2 separate regions of the Homo sapiens genome follow, and region 1 is linked to region 2. Evidence: promoter capture Hi-C in human tissues and cell types (Jung and others, 2019). All regions are on one chromosome and are shown on one strand. The core of a region is centred on a gene start or on the middle of the fragment in contact, and the rest is flanking DNA. Distances in the headings are between cores, read along the strand shown. Region 1 overlaps EXOSC9 (exosome component 9). Region 2 holds the start of QRFPR (pyroglutamylated RFamide peptide receptor).

The links. The method cuts DNA at HindIII sites, captures the fragments that hold promoters and counts their contacts. A contact is called where the count stands out against the background at its distance.
Region 1: a contact is called between a fragment that was not itself captured here and the fragment with the promoter of QRFPR in region 2, in 1 of the 25 tissues and cell types used here (H1 embryonic stem cells).

What each region holds. Positions count from the first base shown.
Region 1 is chr4:121,815,032-121,817,981 of GRCh38, forward strand. EXOSC9 (exosome component 9) reads left to right here. Exons shown (of 12, transcript NM_005033.3): 11 at 1,338-1,416; 12 at 1,741-1,990. The coding sequence ends at 1,825. It overlaps CCNA2 (cyclin A2), which reads right to left. Exons shown (of 8, transcript NM_001237.5): 8 at 1,413-2,655. The coding sequence ends at 2,607. Among named protein-coding and RNA genes, the nearest start is that of CCNA2, 7.4 kb to the right of the region's middle. The HindIII fragment of the contact is 4,620 bases long and covers 1-2,950 here.
Region 2 is chr4:121,379,755-121,382,744 of GRCh38, forward strand. It overlaps QRFPR (pyroglutamylated RFamide peptide receptor), which reads right to left and starts at 1,264. Exons shown (of 6, transcript NM_198179.3): 1 at 554-1,264. The coding sequence starts at 893. RefSeq lists an enhancer at 1,050-1,834. The HindIII fragment of the contact is 9,664 bases long and covers 1-2,990 here.

The DNA.
Region 1 (2,950 bases), core at 428-2,927, 440 kb after region 2:
GCTTATGAACATTACTGGAGCCTGGGCTTTTTGTTTTTTTACTTAAGTAAATAGGTAAGGAAAAAATTTCCCATTGATTGGGACCCTTACTCAAATTTCCCAGTGGTTACTTCTATTTGGTATTATTCTTCCAGAACTTGTTCCAGGTATTTATTTACTCTCTGTGCAGTGATGTAAGCTAATGCTGCATATACTTGTATAGCATTGAATATAACTAGTTGGTTTAACAATTCTCTTATTGTTGAAGATGTAAGTTGTTTCCATTTTCTCACTGTTAATATCCTTGCACTTGCATATACCTCTTATATGTTTGTTTAGTGTATTCTTCTAACAGTGAATAATATTTTCAACTGAATATAATGAAGGTGGACCTAAGCATTGGAAAAATGGAGCAGGTACAGCCTTCCTAAAGCATGTGAACAAAGGGAGAAACTAATTGAAAACTAAAAATACAAATAATTGATATGGGTTAATTCACATTTTATGTATATCATTAACTAATAAGCAGGAGAAAAATGGGCAAAATACATGGAGCAGTTCTCAAAGTATACAATGGCCAGTAATATTTTTCATGGTCAGCCCTGACAGTAATACAAATAAAATCCAAAGAAAAATGACATGGCATTTTTTGTTACTGTATTTTGGGCAGTATTAAAAACACCAGCAATGCCAAAGGTATATGGGAAATGGGTTCTTTTATTTCTTGGAATGTAAACTGGAACTATTTCTGGAGGAATAGAGTAGCACAAACAATTCAGTTGTCTCTACAAAAGATGCTATATACATTTCCCCCTAGCTTTTCTATTATGACATGTACCAAATTGTCACACCATTCAAGCACCTGTAGGAAATAAGAGTTTAAAGAAACAAATGTTACAGATGAGTTCTAGAGTGCTCTAAGAAGCTGATTTAAAGAAAAGATTAAGCCTCCACCTAGAGTTTTATTTTTATTTTTTGGGATGGAGTCTTGCTCTGTCACCCAGACTGGAGTGCAGTGGCACTGCAACCTCCACCTCCATGGGTTCAAGCGATTCTCATGCCTCAGCCTCGAGTAGCTGGGCCTACAAGCACATGCCACCACGCCTGGCTAATTTTTCTATTATTTTTAATAGAGCTGGGGTTTCACCATGTTGGCCAGACTGGACTCGAGTTCCTGACCTCAGGTAATCCACCTGCCTCAGCCTACCAAAATGTGGGTATTAAAAGTGTGAGCCACCACGCCCAGCCCCAGAAATAAGAGTTTAGAACGTCTGATAGAAATAAATTCATGTAGAAATAAATTTTGCAAGAGATTGCTTAACTTTTTTTTTTTTTTTTAAATTAATAAAAAAACAAAGATGCTCCCATAATACTCTCAGATAGTGAAGAAGAAGAAATGATCATTTTGGAACCAGACAAGAATCCAAAGAAAATAAGGTAACAAATTTCTGGTTTATTTCAAATGTATACATATACTCAACACTTATAGAGGTTTGCTCTCTGGTTTTACTCTCATCTTGCCACATGACTATAAACAAAAAGACATCCCTTTTTCATTAGAGATCCATCTGTTCTGTGATTTTTTTACCTTGTGATTTATAAAAATTAGGACCTAAATCTATAATATAAACTTCTTGGATGCCAGTCTTACTCATAGCTGACACATTTTAGATCCTACTGGAAAACTAAGAAATGCCTCTTATTTCAATAATCCAAAACTTAACATACTCTTAGTAAATTCTTACTTTGCTTTATTCACAGAACACAGACCACCAGTGCAAAACAAGAAAAAGCACCAAGTAAAAAGCCAGTGAAAAGAAGAAAAAAGAAGAGAGCTGCCAATTAAAGCTAACAGTTGTATATCTGTATATATAACTATTAAAAGGGATATTTATTCCATTCTGAGAACCCTGGGTATTTTTTATTCACAAATCCATTATAAAATCTAGCAGGATTTTAAAAATAGTTTTTTGTTTTTAATGTGCTTTAAAATAATAAACCTTCTGGAGCATTTCTCGTCTGTTAATTTGCATATAAGCTTCCCACCCTCTTCCACTCCCAACCTCTGTTGAGTTTACCTCGCAAAACCTAAACAAACAGGTTTTACAAAGAGCGAAAAAGTCTGGGGAATCTCTACTGTATCTATCTCTGAATACTGTATTCAGATATGCTTAGATTAGATTATGCCCAAGTCAGCAAATTGATCCAGTTGCTTAGGAAAATGAATGTCAGAATTTGAGGGTCTGTTTTCCTAAACCTACTTTAATTTTAGAGGAAGGCTTTTCACTTCCCATTATATAGTAAACCAAGTAAACTTCTTTACTAAGCAAAATCCTGAAGAAGTTAAATTTGACTTGCAAAGTTTTCCAAATCAATTTATTATCCTGACAGCTGGCATCATTAATACTTTAACAAAACCACTTAAAATTAGCCAAATATCTAAGACAGATACATATACAAAAGATATACAAATTAAAACCATTTAAAAAGTAATAGATACCATAATTTGTACTTGGCCACAACTTCTGTATTCAGAAATGATTGTAAAATTAAAACCTAAGTTAAAAACTGTACACCATATACTTTGAGTGATTTACATCTTAGAAAACAAAGGCAGTCTTTCATTGTTACAGATTTAGTGTCTCTGGTGGGTTGAGGAGAGAAACACCATGATACCTGTAAGTAGGGAAAAAAAAAGCATTTTTAGTAAACACTCACTGGGTAAAGGAGATCATGGAATAATGTTTGTACTCATGTATTGGGAACTAAAAAATGCTATTTCTGTCTGACCGACTTGATGGTTTTAGAAACACTGTCTGGTCCCTGAAACACACATGCATGCCCCCTTCCTTCTCTCTTCTCCCCCAGACCCAGGGCAGAAAGCATGAACTACAACCTTCTTCAAACACATAACCAATTTAGAGAACAGCTTCTCAAGGAGGCTATGGCAGATTCATGAATAAGGTTAAAA
Region 2 (2,990 bases), core at 14-2,513:
TGCACATGAATTATATTTGTTTTATGCTCATAGGTACAAGAAGCTGTCTGCAAGCAACTGGGAAGTGAGGCTGGAGGGTGGGGGAATGAGGAAATGAGATTTTTAACTTTGGTTTAATTATTTGAAATATTTTTATCTCACTTTTAGTAAGAAAACTAGGGGAGAAAAACCTGGTAATGACGGGAAAGGGAGCTGAAATAAGTGGCGAGGGGTGCGACTTCCTGCCTCACTGCTCGGGACCTTTCCGAAGCTTTTCCCCAACCTATGTCTCTAAGCCACAAGGAGGAAGCACTGGAGGGGAATCAGAGGCGGCCAAAAGAACTTATGTCCAGGTGAACACAGGTGGCGAAGTTCTAAGAAAGAGCACCGGATTCATTTGACAGAGAAGTGTAAGGAAGAGACAGACGAGAGAGAGACAGACAGACGAGAGAGGAGAGAGAGAGAGAGAGAGAGAGAGAGAGAGAGAGAGAGAGAGAGAGAGAGAGAGAGAGAGATCCCCTGAAAGGCAGAGGGTTAAGAGAGAAGGAGCGAAGGAGCGGGGCGCGACTCTTACCCCCCAGCCAGTTGTCGGAAATGTTCTGGAGCATGGTGACGGGAATGCAGAAGAAGGTGATGAGCAGGTCACTGAGCGCCAAGGAGCAGATAAAGATGTTGGTGACGGTGCGCATGGCCTTGCTGCGGGTCACCACGTAGAACACCAGAGCATTGCCAAAGAGCGCCAGGGCGAAGATGAGCACGCCGGTGAGCACGAGGGCCAGCTTGGCGCGTCCCGGCAGCTCTGGGGTGTAGACGAGCGGTCGCAGCCGGTACAGAGCGATGAACTGCTCCCGCGTCAGGTTGTGGTCCCGCAGCAGCCGAGAGAACTGCTCCGGGGTAATGTTAAGCGCCTGCATTGCTGTGCGCTCCCGGGACGCGGGGCCACCGCCCGCTACTGGCTGGCCATCCGCATCTGCGGGGCAGCGAGGGCTTCGGGGGACCAGCCGGAGGCCGCCTCCCTTCCTCTACTCTGGAGTCAGCCGCGCGGGAGGGCTCTAGGCTGCACCCCGGGAGGTTCGGGAAAGGAGAGCAGCTCAGGGATCAAACCCACGATAAAGAGGCGGGAAGCCAAAGCACTGGGAGACTCGATCTCAGTGACCAAAAAATGTTCGCGGTTCAAATAAAGTTCTTCCCTTGCTCTTCCCTAAGGCGAGGCGCCGCCACGGTCTGGGGTGCTGGAGCGCCACGCGAGGGTCCTGGCGCCTCTGGCTCCCCGCCTTCTGGCCATGCGATGCGGACGCCGGACCCGCTTGGGGAGCGGTGGAGGGTGGGGCTGAACTCGGTGACGCCTCCCTCACACCCAGCTTCAGTGGCGCCAACGCCGCTTCCCCGCACCCTCAGGGCGAGGGAAGACTTCCCTGGCTCACCAACTTGCTGCCGCCCAGCGCCTTTCTCAGGGCATGGCCCCAGTCAGGTAATGCTTGTATGTGAAACTGGGTATTGGGGGGTTCCACAGTTTCAAGTTTCTCCTCTTGCGTAATAATGGGAGCCACAACTACCCAAGGCAAATAGGGCTTATTTTAAATTATTTTCTGTATTGAAAAATAATTAAGATAGTTAAAATATAGAACTTGGGAAATGGCAAAGATAATACAGAAAGATCCTGCGTACCCACCCTTCACCCAGTTTCTTTCATTCATTACATCTTATTTAACTACGGAACAATACAAAACCAGGAATTTGACACAGGTACAGTGTTTGCATGTTTTTATCTCAAGTGTAGATTCCCGTAACCGTCAGGATACAAACTCTTCTATCACCACAAAAATCTCCCTGGTGCTTTTTATACTCACACCTAGCCCCTCCCTCCACCATCTCTAACTCCTGGCAACCACTAATATGTTCTCTCTTAACTTTTGTCAGAACATTACGTAAGGGAAATCATACAATATGCTGCCTTTTGATATTGAATTTTCTTCGCTCAGCCTAATGCCCTTTAAATCCATCCAAGTTGTTGCATGTATTAATGGCTGTTTCTTTTTATTGCTGAGGCTGTATCACCGTTTATTTAACCATCCACCTCTTGTAGAACATTTTGGTTGATTACCATTTTGAGCTATTAAAAATAAAGCTGCTATAAAGAATCATGTACAGGTTTTTGTGTGAACATAGTTTTCCTTTCTATAGGAAATGCCAAAAGTTTTGATTATTGAATCTGTAATGTGTATATTTAATTTTTAAAGAGATTGACTACTTTTCAGAGTGGCTGTACAAGTCTCCATCTCTACCATCAATGCATGAGAAGTTACGTTTCTCCACATCCTTGCCAGCATTTGGTTTTGCTGCTTTTTTTTTTTAAGCTATTCTAATAGATCTGTAGTGATATCTCTTTAGGGCCTTAATTTACATTTACCTAATGGCAAGTAATATTGAACATCTCATGTGCTTATTTGCCGTCCTTGAATCTTCTTTGGTGAAATGTCTTTCCATGTGTTTTGTCCGTTTCTAATTGCATGGTTTAGTTTATTTGCTGTTGAAAGTTCTTTTTATATTCTACATACAAGTCCTTTGTTAGTAAACGGTTTGCAAATATGTTCTTCCAGTCTGTAGCTTGTTATTTATCTTCTTAACAGGGACTTTCACAGAACAGCTTTTAGTTTTAGTGAAGTCATATTTATCAATATTTTCTTTTATAGATAGCTTTTAGTGTTCAGTCTAACTTCACCAAAGCCTATTTCTCAAAAACTTTCTCTTAGGTATTTTTCTAAAAGTGTTATAGTTTTACATTTTATGTTTTGGGCTCTCTATTCTGTTGAATTGATCTATGTGTCTATCCTCCACATTCTTGACTACTGTAGCTATATAATAAGTTTTGAAATCAGGTAGCATGATTTCTCATACTTCATTCTTATTTTTCAAAATTATTGTAACTATTCTAGGACCTGTGCCTATTCATATACATTTTACAATCAACTTGTCTATGTCTACAAAAAACCTTGCTGGGATTTTGATAG